Regions from separate parts of the Homo sapiens genome. Here region 1 is linked to region 2. Evidence: promoter capture Hi-C in 16 types of primary human blood cells and fetal thymus (Javierre and others, 2016). All regions are on one chromosome and are shown on one strand. The core of a region is centred on a gene start or on the middle of the fragment in contact, and the rest is flanking DNA. Distances in the headings are between cores, read along the strand shown.

What was found. Contacts are between HindIII fragments. The CHiCAGO score rates a contact against its expected background, and 5 or more counts as called.
Region 1: a contact is called between a fragment that was not itself captured here and the fragment with the promoter of UFM1 in region 2, in 6 of 17 cell types (monocytes, naive CD8 T cells, total B cells and 3 more). The highest score is 9.7, in monocytes.

The regions. Positions count from the first base shown.
Region 1 is chr13:36,338,741-36,345,526 of GRCh38, forward strand. The region is part of intron 1 of SPART (spartin); the gene reads right to left. Among named protein-coding and RNA genes, the nearest start is that of SPART, 4.3 kb to the right of the region's middle. The HindIII fragment of the contact is 2,041 bases long and covers 2,502-4,542 here.
Region 2 is chr13:38,345,968-38,352,715 of GRCh38, forward strand. It overlaps UFM1 (ubiquitin fold modifier 1), which reads left to right and starts at 3,884. Exons shown (of 6, transcript NM_016617.4): 1 at 3,884-3,954; 2 at 4,032-4,088. The coding sequence starts at 3,953. RefSeq lists silencers at 3,414-3,523, 4,221-4,435 and an enhancer at 3,634-3,843. The HindIII fragment of the contact is 2,541 bases long and covers 3,462-6,002 here.

The DNA.
Region 1 (6,786 bases), core at 2,272-4,771, 2.0 Mb before region 2:
CCACAACTTGGTAATTAGAGTTTTGGCTGCCAGGTACCCCTCAAGAAAGGAGATTGGAAGTTATCTTCTTGAGGAATCTGATCATCACCAAGAAGAAAGACACAAAGAATAGTGACAGTGAGAGTTCCCTAAGGAAAACTGTCCAAGCAATTCACCGTTCAGAAGCCATAGTTGATAGGTTCCACCCATAGAATCTCAGATCAGCTTTCTAGTGCTTCACTCACACGCACACACTCACACACAGACACACACACAGCCCAGGATCACAAAACATGAGGCAAACATCCAGTATAAAGGATTAAAAGAAGAGCAATGTAATTTGGTTGAAATGGACAATGTGCAGGAAACGTAAAAAAAAAAACCCTATCATTTATATCAACATAAAGAAAAAGAAAATATCGCATCCATAAAATAAAAAGTGGGATGCGTGCATACTGAAAGAAGGATATTCGAGTGACAAAAGGAACTCCGGGAAATTAAATATTTAAAACGCAGGAAGGAAAAACTCAAGAAGGATGAGGTCATACAATTATAGAAAATGCCCAGAAAGCAGAGCAAAAAGACAGAGATGAAAAATAGGCAATAATAAATAAGAAAATTAGGACCCAGTCTATAAGGCATATCATTTGAATAATAAAACTTCTAGAAATATGTGAGGCTGAGGCGGGCAGATCACCTGAGGTCAGGAGCTCGAGACCAGCCTGACCAATATGGTGAAACCCCGTCTAAAAATACAAAAAAATTTCCAGGGCATCATGGCATGCACCTGTACCCCAGCTACTCAGGAAGCTGAGACAGGAGAATTGCTTGAACCCGGAAGGCAGAGGTTGCACTGAGCCGAGATCATGCCACTGCACTCCAGCCTGTTCACAGAGCACGACTCCATCAAAAAAAAAAAAAAAAAAAAAAAAACCAACCAACAAACAAAAAACCTCCTAGAAATAGAGAACAGAGAAAAAATAAGGGATGAAAGAATTAAAGAAATAATTCATAGAATTTCCTAGAATTGGAAAACATGAATTTCCTAATTTAAAAAGACCAACAGGTTGGGCACAGTGGCTGACACCTGTAATCCCAGCACTTTAGGAGACTGAGACAGGAGGATCGCTTGAGTCCAGGAGTTTGAGATCAGCCTGGGCAACATAGTGAGACCAGCTCTACAAAGAAAACATCAAAAAATTAGCCAGACATGCTGGCGCGTGCCTGTAGTTCCAGCTACTCAGGAAGTGAGGCAGGAGAATCACTTGAGTGCAGGAATTCAAGGCTGCAGTGAGCTATGATCACACCACTGTACTCCAGCCTGGGTTGAAAGAGCAAGACCCCATCTCTAACAAATAAAAGTAAATAAAAAAACCAATGGGCAAAAAATAAGAAAAAAAGGGGAGGCTGAGGTGGGCAGATCACAAGGTCAGGAGATCGAGACCACCCTGGCTAACAAGGTGAAACCCTGTCTCTACTAAAAATACAAAAATATTAGCCAGGCGTGGTGGCAGGCGCCTGTAGTCCCAGCTACTCAGGAGGCTGAGACAGGAGAATTGCTTGAACCCGGGAGGCGGACCTTGCAGTGAGCCGAGATCACACCACTGCACTCCAGCCTGGGCGACAGAGCAAGACTCTGTTTCAAAAAAATAAAAATAAATAAATAAATAAGAAAAAAAGATTTCACACCAAGAAACATACCATGACATTTTAGAACACTAAGCTCAAAAGGATCATCTTTAAAATACTTACACACAAAAAAAGAGAGAGAAGTAAGAGTGCTAAGGAACTTCTTAAAGGCAACAATAGAAGAAGGAAATTATACATTTAATTCATAATTCTGAGTAAAAATAGCTTCTAAACCCAGCCAAGTGATTGCTCAGTTATTACATCTTCTGTTTGCTGGGTACCATGTTTGATGAAAGGAATCCCAAGACTGATGATGAGTTTCCAAGATAACAATTAGGCAAACACTCCAGGGTGGAGTAGGAGACAACAGAAAAGAATTTTTTAAGAAAGTAAAACTGATAGAATACCTAATGTGATTGTAAGCTCTGAAAAAAGATCTACACAACTGTGAGAGTATTCAGGGTTCCATTAGTAATAATTAAAAACTAAGGATTAACTCTAGGGAAAATGATGTTGAGCAAGAAATAAAAAGTAATCATAATGTACTAAATGTTTCAGTTTTGATTGGTGTCATAATATACACAATGAATCTCAATATAAACAAAATTATGGTACAACCATATTGAAAGATGGGAAGATGGATGGATAAAAAGTTTATGTGCATGCGACAAAGGATGAAAGAGATAAAACTTCATCTTTCTCACTGAGAAGTTAATGGACAGTGCCTAAAACTGAAAAAGTGCCAATATATTCGCACTGTTTAGAGTACAAAAAAGACCAAAAGAATTGGGTAAGAAAAATGATACAAGCTGACTTTGGGAGGAAGGGGTAAGATTTTTCTTAAATCTATGTGTATGATAGAAAATTTAATTACTATTAAAAAAGTAAATGGAAGCTTTAGAGCAACTATGTCAAACAGAACTGTAATGCAAGCCACATATGTAATTTATACTTTTCTAATAACATTAAAAAGGTAAAAAACAGGTGAAGTTAATTTCAATGATAGTATCTTATTTATCCAAATATATCAAAAATATTATTTCAATATGCAGTTAATATAAAAACTTTCAGTTAAATATTTTAGCTTTCTTTTTTTTGGTATGAAGTCTTCAAAACTCAGTATGTGTTTTACACTGAAAAGATAGTTCAATTCCAACTAACCCCATTGCAAGTGCTCAATATCCACATGTACCTAGTGGCTACTGTCATTAGATGTGGCAATTCTTTTCCTGTGATCTCATGAAAACTTACGATAGAAGAATTTCACTGATATGAAACTATTTTAGCAGCAATCTACACTATGAAAGCACAGAAGCATCACAGAAAGCATTCATTAAAATTGGTCTAGCTTCCGATTAATAATATAACTATACTTTCTAACCTGAAGTGCCACTAGTCAGCCTTATTATGCAACAACTTCATGGTAGTCAACAGAATATATTCAGTACCCAATTTAGAAAATACCATATACAATTGACCATATACAGACCCACGTATTTGCTCTACCCCACAACCCCTATCAATATTAACAATCTCTTCTCCTGGAATACTATCCTGTTGTGTCATAAGATTGCCACATCTTTCCAAAGAAACCACAAGACAGGCATTTTGTATTTTATCTTCCTCAGGATACAAGGAGGCCCAGACTAAGGCAGCAGAAAGACAGCAGAGGTTAAATAGGCATCTGTGAGTTGATTGGGAGCTTCACCAGCATCATTAAATTTGTCCAAATGACTTGAACAGGGTCTTGAACAACACTGTGACTTGGCACCCACTTTTGTGCTACATACGATAGGACACCACTATCCCCACGCATCATTTAGAGTACTTAACATATGCTGGACAGTATGCTAGGTGTTTATCTCAATCCTTACAAACAATTCTTGATGCAATATTACTATTAGTACTACTTTGCAGAGAAGAAAATTGAAGTTTGCAAGCATTAATTGCCTTAGATCACCTGTTTTCTGAAAGACCCTGGAATTAAGAATTACTTTTACATTTTTTAAAGGTTATAAAAACAAAGAAGAATGTGCAACAGAGATCATACATGGCCCCAAAAGCCTAAAATATTTACTATCTGGCACTTAACAAAAAAAGTTTACTGACCCTGCACTAGTTTACAGAATTAAATAGTCTGATTCCAAAACAAATCCTCTAAATCAGGGTTTCTCAGTCTTGGCATGGTTGACATTTTGGGTTGGATAATGCTTTGTTAGCAGCATCCCTGATCTCTGTCCACTGGATGCCCATAGCAGCACCACCCCTCATCCCGGTTGTGACAACCAAAAACGTCTCCAGACATTGCCAAATGTACTTTGGGCAGCAAAATCGTCCCCCACTGAGAATTACCACTCTAAATGGTCTTCAAACTGGGGGATGTGTGCCCCCCAGGACAAATGAAGTCTTCCATGGGACATACACCAACGACATGTGTAATTTTAAGAAAAAGGCTTCCAGATCCTTTACTCCCATGAGTACTTCTCACTAAACTGATCTGCCTGAGAATATGCCCATTGTCCAGTTATCATGCTGATTTTTATTCCCCAAGATCCTTTCACAATCTTCCACTTTACAAAATAAAGGCATACTTCTCACCCACTCCTATTCTTACTATGGTACACTGCCCCAGGATGGAAAAGCCTCCCTACCAACAAACAATAAGTCGAAGGGCTCAAAGACCCTCCTTTAATTTAGGCACAACTCCCACTATCCATTCCATTAGGACACAGATTTCCAGTAAACTTCTACTCTTAATAATTATTATTCATTAAAATCCATCAAGTTTTTAAGCTATTCTAATCAACTATTTATAATAACTCAACCCAAAAGAAAAATTACAACTTACAGAATTAGTTATAGGAAATTTTTAAACTTAGCTTCAATTTATATAACTATTGTTATTAAAGCCATGTATCACAGAGATTAATAAAAAGCTTTCAAGCATAAAAATGCATTACCTTAAGATAATATTCTGTGGGGTGGGGGTGATAAAAAAGTAAAATTTTTTAAAAAAGGAAGTGTGTAAAATATAATGTATTTTAAAAATTGATGGTGATGGATATAAAACTACAAAGATATGATACCCCACTGAATACAGGTGAAAGAATGATGTACCAATATTAAAATGTTAATATCAATACCATGTGGGAAACTGCATTCTTTTCAACTAACGCATGATGTAAAATGCTGTAAGTTAACCAAAAGTGTGCAAGAGGGACAGTTTTACAAAAATTATTTGGGGGTTCACAAGCAAATTAAAAGTACTGCTTTAAAAATCACTCACAACTATAATATATAGCAAAGATATAATGGACATGGTCTGTCTCTGGCCCTCAGAAGCACCAAAATTTACTATCTTTTGTTAAGCTCTCTATATGTGTCTGGCACCCTTCTAAGGTTATCCAATCCTCACTCTTGGAGGTTGATATCTGATTTTAAAAATGTTTTACAAATATTGAGCAGCTTGCCCAAGAAGAGAGCTAGTAAATGATACATTCAAATCAGTTCATGGATCAGAAGATTATCTGTCAAGAAAATTAAATGAGCTCTCGCCTGTAATCCCAGCTACTGCACAGGCTGAGGCCGGAGGATCGCTTGGGCCCAGAAGTTCAAGGTTGCAGTGAGCTATGACTGCACCACTGCACTCCAACCAGCCTGGGTGACAGAGCAAGACCTTGTCTCTTTAAAAAAAAAAAAAAAAGAAAGAAAGAAAAGAAAAATGAAAATGAAAATTAGATGAGATGTGTTTGATTCCAAATCTAAAAGTCCTACTATGTTTACAAGTCAGCAGAGTGAGGGAGGGGTGAAGAAAACCCAGAGTGTCCCGTCGTAGAAAGTCATGTGGCTTAAATCTTCAATAGGTAGCATTTGAAAGTAGAAGCGAGGCATAATGAAGGAATATAGCTAGAAGCAATATTTACCTTGGGTATACGTTTATTTCTAAGCTTATTTTACATACGGTGTGATGAAAGATTTCCTAATAATGTGTCAATGGAGGGAACAAGATGGCTACTGAGAAAGAAGAGTGTGCCTGTGTGTAGGGGTGGAGTGGGAGGGCTAATTCCACAGGATTGCTTAATAACCTTCCTTGCTACATCTCCATCTTAAAGAGAAAAAAAGGATACACGAGAGAAGAGCCTGGGTATCTAGAGGTTATATATAAGTCTAATGGTCAATTTCAGTCTAATCTCTGGGGAATCTCAACACAGAAAGAAAAAGGTTTATATTAAAATATCACATTTTTATTTTGTGACTGGGATTTGCTATATCCTCAGCGGTCTCAGAAAATACATTTTACAGAAATAAGGATTGGAGGATGGTGACTTAAAAAAAAGCCTATTCTATTCCTAAGCACAATTAAGTGTCAATCAAGTGTCCTGAAAAGATAAAAACCATTATCACATTATTTCACATTATTTAATTTTCAAAGTTAAGAAGACAAAGTCTTTGAAATGACAATCTGATGTATTAAACAGTACCTACACCAGTGTACAGTCTTCAACAACAAACCAAAATCTGTTCCGATACCAGTAGTTCACCTAAATTCTAATTTTTTAACGTTCTAATAAAACACATTTATTTCAACATAACTACATGTATGTCTGTGTATGTCTTAAAAAATACCCGAGAAAAGGTAAAATTCTGCATTAAAATACCTAGCAATTTAGTTCGATTCCATAAACACTGAAAGAAGTAACACTCTCACTTAACAGTCAACATTACAAGCAGTCTTTAATAATACCGCATTTAACTCCTTAGAGCTAGCACAAGTTGATCTAATGCCTATTTGGCCCTTTACCAAAAAAGCGGAGGGGGCTTTGTCTAACACCTGTATACACCTCCCTCCGTAGCATCCCGCTCATTCTAGCTTCTTAGGGAAACCATAGACAACGACGTTTCAGAGAGTGCCAGAGGTGAAGCCGACCCGAAACCACATTACAGAAAGGCTTCCTGTTTCAAACAGGTCCAATAAAGCCACCAAATTAAGTCTACGATTATAAAGAACTGCGAATCAGAAAATAATTCCATATAGGTGCAGTCTTCTATTACTTTTTTCCCCACTTTCGGAAATTTCAAAGAAAAATTGCTACATTCTTAAATATGAGGCCATTATTTCAAAGGCTGTAACAACCTGGAACGCAAATTCGTTAAATTATGATACAATAAGGCCAACCT
Region 2 (6,748 bases), core at 2,634-5,133:
AAAATGATAAACATTGTAAGGTCTCCCCGAAATATGGCCCTATTCCTTCATCCCTAGGGAAACAATCTCTAGGGAATTTCAGAATCAGAGAAAAGATGCCCAGTTCCTGCTCCCATTGAAGCCCAGGAAGACAACAAAGTTCCCTTCATTCTAGGGAGAAAACATGTTATCTTTAGTCAAAGATGTCTGAGCTCTTCTGGGTTCCCTATAGCCACAGGGTGGTACAAGAGGGCACTTTTCTTACATCCCTTAGAGACAACAAACAGTCCTAAAGTCGTCTTGCCAGCACACAAAAAGGAGTGATATCACCAGACAAAAATGAGATGTCATGTGTCTCAGATGTTTGGAGTGGACACAAATATCACTGAGAATATGGAGAGATGATGACAAAGGACCAGACGTCACAGTCCTCTGAAGCCTGTATTCTACATAAAACTGCAAGAAGAGTCATGTGGGGAGAAACTACAAATGGATCTAAAAATCTCAACTTGAATCAGAAAACCTTAAGTTAATAGAGAAAAGTAAAAATAGAACATTAATATTTACCTCATTTAGCTGGTGGAAGGATAAAAATATGTAAATGTGGAAAAAAAAAACTCATGGTTGAAATGGATTTGTCAGAGGCTACTTCAGTTTTTCTAAAAGTAATGTTTCCATTAAATGAAGAATTCGCACAATATTTAGAGAGAAAATTTAATTATACCAGACTGTTAAATTCCTGTTTTTCACAGTTCAAAATGCCATTTTGTAATAAAGATATTTTACAAATTCTGTGGTTAAAATATTCCACGTTTTGTGATTAAGCCTCAAATTTAGAAACATTGTAGTCAATGAGCTTCGTAGAAAAGTCATTTCTTTTTCTCACTGAATTTTAGAAAATATTTGGGAAAAATATGTAACTGTAACAATCAAATGTAGCACATTTAGAGCTATAGTCTTCTGTAAGGGCTTGCCTGGACTTGCTAGGCTCCGATCTCACCTGGGTTTCATTGTTCTTTTTGACTCAAAGGAATGTAAATATTCTCTAACCTTCTAGTCCTTACCTTGAAAAATAACACAGCATTTACATATTCCCAAGTACTTCTGTAACCAAATCCACTCTCTCCTCTTTGTATAAGGCTTCTTGTCACTAAATTATGACTTATAGCCAAGGCATCAAAGTTTAAAGTCTATATTTTGTCATTGATTTGTACAAAGTGGTTAATACCAGCCAAAAATAAATCTTAATGAATTTTGAGTCATTATTATCATTGCTTCAATTATATCAATGCCTTTTAGTGGATTTTGAGGGGAGAAAAGGCAATAGAAAAAAATGAACAAATTAAAGTACTATTAAAATACCAGTCAATTATTAATTGATCAGTCTATAATTTGTTCCCTGTAATATAAAGTATTTGGAATAGAACACCTTAAGATTTATTCAGGTGCAGATGTTTCAAGATTACATAATTTGACTATCAGATGGTTCTAGTCATAATCGTAAATACAATCAAATTATGGTGAAAATGAAAGAATTTTTTTTGGCATCCAGAGGAATATAAAAAATAAAGTTGGCTATAAAAATAACTAGTCAGAAGAATTTCTATGACTATGGAAGCAAATCTTTTTAGTCCTTATGTAAATTTAATTTCCTTCTGGCTTTCTTCTAATAATGGGAAATTTATATGCATTTGCAAATAGAATATTGGTATGCTTCATTGACATTTAATGAGGTCTAACATGGTCACACTGTGCACTTCTACAGTCATTTCTGCCTCTACATGATACTAATTGGATCTTTTCCAAAACACATTAGGCCATTTATGCTATTTGTTGTCTTAAAATGTTCCATTGCCAATTATCTCCAAAAATTTGCTCCAGAGTTTGCTTCTGATTACAGCCATTAAACGTACTTCAACATTTTAACTTTTCAGTAAAAGAGAAGGTCCTTGTTTTGCTATAAAATTTTCCAATTGCAAATCCCTTCACAAAGTTAAAAAAATTGATTATAAATAAATCCATTTATAATTTCTTTCTTGTCCTAAGCAAAATAAAACTCAGGAGGCTGCAGAAATCATGCTGTGACTCTGAGGAGACAAACATGAGAAGCAGAGTTGGGGACTGAGGTGAAAAAGAATTCTAAATATTTAGAAACAGCTGCTTTTTAATATCTCAAGAGATGTTATTTTGATATATTATACAAATGTATTTTCTGAAGCAGCAGAATCTGAGTACTAAAGTCACACTGTGGGACTGAATTCTGTTTTCACCACTTTTTATACATACAATAAAAGCTCTCTGATTAATATCCATTTTTCTCTTTAGGATTTTGCCACGTTTTGATTCATGAGCAGAAACCAAACTATAAATAGCAGGATGCAAATTTTGTTTCAAAATATATTATATGTAGTCTTATAGACTGTAAATATGTACACTCATCTCTTTCATTATTATTTGGCTAGCTGACAATAGGTAGACACAATCACAGTTTTATCCTTATTACTATTCTCACAAGTTTTAGTCACACCCACTAATTGAATAGTTTCAGCTATTAAGGCTGTAACTGTTGATCCCTGTATCTGTCAATCAATATTTGGCTTCATCTACATATATGGTAAGACCATTATTTTAAAAAGTGAGGATGGCTGTCATGAGAATGTTGGAGTCTTACTTGCCTACTCAGAACCAGAACTCTCTCCACTGGGAAATGTCACCATAGAAGATCAGTTGGCTGCAAAATTATTGTAAAGATGAATTTGATCTCCATTATCCCTACTACAGTTCCTTCCTGGTTCCTCTCTTAAGTATCTCTCCTTAAGAATCTGATGCATATTCTAAAGATCAACTAGATTGCCCCATTATTTTAATGCCTACCTGCTTCCTCCTTTGTCTATTCATGCTAATGTTTTAAAAGGGCATTTCAGTCATTGTGAGACAGACGCATATTTTCCAAACACAGAGGTTTAGATCTGTAATAAAGTTTAGAGGACAATTTTCTTCCGTCATCACTACACAGGATGTTAGATCCTAGAGAGTTGACGCCTACCTGCCTTACTCATCTTGGATTCCCCAGAGTTTAGCTTAGCGCCGGGCAAATAGAAAGGGTTCAAAGTTGGTTGTTAAATTGAATAAATGTGGTCAGTGATTAGCAACTCAGCGCACTGGTTTAATTAGACCATATAACAAATTACTGAAATCTCCTGTTCATAGATGTGTCTTCCCAACTAGACGCCACGTTCCCCAAACGTAGAAACCTCATTTTTTCTCACCCACCCCAGCGGGAGTCTTGGCATAGATAATTCGTACTTGATAGCTCTCTTACTTAACCGAAATTCAATAGTTATAAATCAGTATCGGAAAGTAAAGCGTGAAGGAGAAACTATGAGAAATGTAAAGGATATAACAGGATTGGTTTGCTGGAAAGACGGAAGAAAACTAATGATAAAGCAGTGTTACAATTCCTGCTTCTGGAGCACCAATTAAGCTTTTCCGCGCTCAGGTTGCCTTAGAAACTTTAGAGCGCGTCCGCCCCAGCCCCGCCCCCGGCCTCGCCCCGAGCTTCGCCCCAAGTCCATCTCGCTCTTCATCCGACTACCCCATACCCTTACTTCCGCCCCAACCTGCCAACTGGAACCTAGGGTCCTACGCTCTATGCCCACGCTTATTCTGCCTGACTAAAAATATGGTAGCAAATTACCAAAGTTAGAAAGATATCTTATAAATATAATCCATACTTTTTTCTTAGATATATAAACGCAAAAGCACAAGATATTTGTAATTTAAAAGCGCCATCTAGCATGAGCTCTTAGGGCCAATTTTCAGGCAGTGCGTTGGATAGCAACAACTTCGGAGGTCCCCAGATTGCAGAGGGAGACGTGGACGTGAGTGGAGCGGGGCGGTCCCCAGCACACTAGAGGAAGTCGTGCTACCCCCGCGGAGTTGTCGTGTGTTCTGGATTCATTCCGGCACCACCATGTAAGTGTTTGCTTACCGACTGCCATAATTCCTGGTCCAGCTGCCCGACCCTGACTCTCTCCCGCTCTTTTCCTCAGGTCGAAGGTTTCCTTTAAGATCACGCTGACGTCGGACCCACGGCTGCCGTACAAAGTGTGAGTAGCTCGGCCGAGATGGGCCTTTTGGGGCCGGACAAGACGGGGCTGGGTTGGGGATGATCCGAGCTTTTCCAACAACTACCCCACGCAGTCTTCATCTCTTCACTTCATCTACTTTCCTGGCTCGCGCCCTTCCAGGAGCCTTTCCCACCGGAGCCTGCGAGGAGAGGTCCGTACTTGCTCGCTAAGTGTCAGCTTGGCAGCTTGGCCCCGTCACGAGGGTGTGGGTGTGTTTCTGATTAGTGACCTCCCCTCGGAATTCATTTGGTGGGCAGGTGGCGCGGGAGGACAGGTGGACCAGGTTCTGGTAATTTGTTGGGATTCTTAAACAGTCCCCATCTGCTGGATATTAGAAAAGCGTTTCACCGCTTTGGCCAGCTGGTTGAGGAAGTTAAGGAAGACATTCCATCTTGATAGTCAAGACTTTGAAATTACTTGAACATTTGTTATTCCGCGGCTTCTGAGTTTCGTTGTGTATGAGTAACTCAGCAGTCGGGCATCACAAAGTAATGAGACTCAGATCACACCCTTCCTATGCTGGGATTTAATAGAGTATTTGGTAGGAATGGGAAATGCAGATAGGGGATAGTTTATCCATGTGGGGCCTTTACTTATCCTTCGCAGTTGAGTGATAGATTTTAAGTAAACACTCTTGAGGTTATTGCAGTTGGAAGTAGCATGAAATGTAGCAAAGAACAGGATTACAATAGAATTTTTTGCATAATTAATTAGTACCTTGGCCTACCTAGCTGACTGATAAATTTCAATGATTTACCAATCCATGATCCGTACAACCTCTCAGCCTTTTCCTCCCTTGATCTTTTCATCTCCAAAATATCCCTGTTACACTTTATCTCAGGTGTTCATGGTTGCAGCCTAGAACCTTAAGATTCCAATAATTGCTCCATCTCTGAGATGTCGTTTACAGGCACTCTTATGGATAAATACATTCTCTCCTACATGATTTACTATAATTTCTCATCTACAACGTTTCATTTAATCCATTAATCACAGTGATTTTTTATCTGTAGCTATCCCCACTTCTATTCCTTACCTTACTCCTTATATAGTTAAGAGTCCATTGGTCCACCTTTAAATCATTCTCATGCAAACACCCTCAACTCTGGTGGCCCTGTCTCTCCTCTCAGCATATTTTGGTTAGTGAAACACCAACTCTGAAACCAGCTGTTTGTATTATCTGTACATAGCTGACTGCCCCTGGAGAAAATAACAGACTGGAGGGTTTACATTAAATTCATGACTACAATTAATAGTACCTAGTACTTAATACATTCTTCAAGTTTGCTCATTTTCCTCCTTATTCTCAGAAAAGATTGTTTAAAAATTTCAAACTTTCCACAGCTGCTGTCTCCCTTGCTATCAAGCCATCAGAGGGAAATTCTATCATCTTTACACCAATGTAAACCTACCACTACATGGATAAATCCGTTAATTTCCCATCCTGTTAGAATGGAAAAAATGACTTCACTCCTATGAAAAACCACTTGAGCTATAGTTCCCATCTATTTCAGTCTTGTCAAGGTTAAAGTAGATGGAGTCCAGTGCCCCCTCTCTCCTCATGATTGGTTTTTCCCTTTCTACTGGATTATTCTCATCAATATGCAAATGTACTCGAAAGAGAGCGTGAGAAGGAAGGAAGAAAATGATAGAGTAGGACAATAACATTAAGAGCCTGGAACATTGTACCAGTTCAGTTAATATGTGGTGACTGAATGAATTTAGTAGGTACAACTGTTGTTTAGTATGTATGTGTGCGTGTGTAGTTGTGTGTGTATGTGTATAAGGATGTGTGTGTGGAAAATTCACATAACGTGTAAATGTGTGTACAAGGGTATCTGTGCTATATTTTCTTTTCAAAGTACATGGTAACTAGTACTTGGGTACTTGACAAGCTTGCCCTTTTAATCTTTGCTTCCTTTACACATGTTCTTTTCTGTGCTTAGAATGCAGTCTCATGATCACAACATATTTTATAGTAATAAAAATCTCACCTCTATGAAGTTTGTTTTTTTTTCTTTCTTTCTTTTTTTTTTTTTTTTTGTGAAACAAAGTCTCGCTCTGTTGCCCAGGTTGGAGTGCAGTGGCACGATCTTGGCTCACTGCAACGCCCGCCTTCCCAGTTCTTCTCCTTCCTCAGCCTCCCAAATAGCTGGGACCACAGGTGTGTGCCACCTTGCCCAGCTAATTTTTTGTATTTTTAGTAGAGACGGGGTGTCACTGTGTTAGCCAGGATGGTTTCCATCTCCTGACCTCGTGATCTGCCCACCTCGGCCTCCCAAAGTTCTGGGATTATAGGCGTGAGCCACCCCTTCTGGCCAAAGATTTTTCTAATTGTCCACAGAGTTAATCTCGCCCTTCTTGAGTTACCTGTGGACTTAGTCTTTATAATAATTCTTACCAATTTATGTTATTATTTTGTTTATATATTTATTTAAAAAACAAATGATGCCAGTAATTTACTTCAAAAATTCTCATTAATGTAAATTTATTCAAAACACTGGGATAATTTAAGTACCGATTTTATGAAATGACTGGCAAATACAACTTTAAATCTAGATAAGATCTGTGGAGTCACTGTAACTCTCATTTTTTCTAATTTTCTGCCAGTTAGAACTTGCATTAAAAGATGTTTTCAT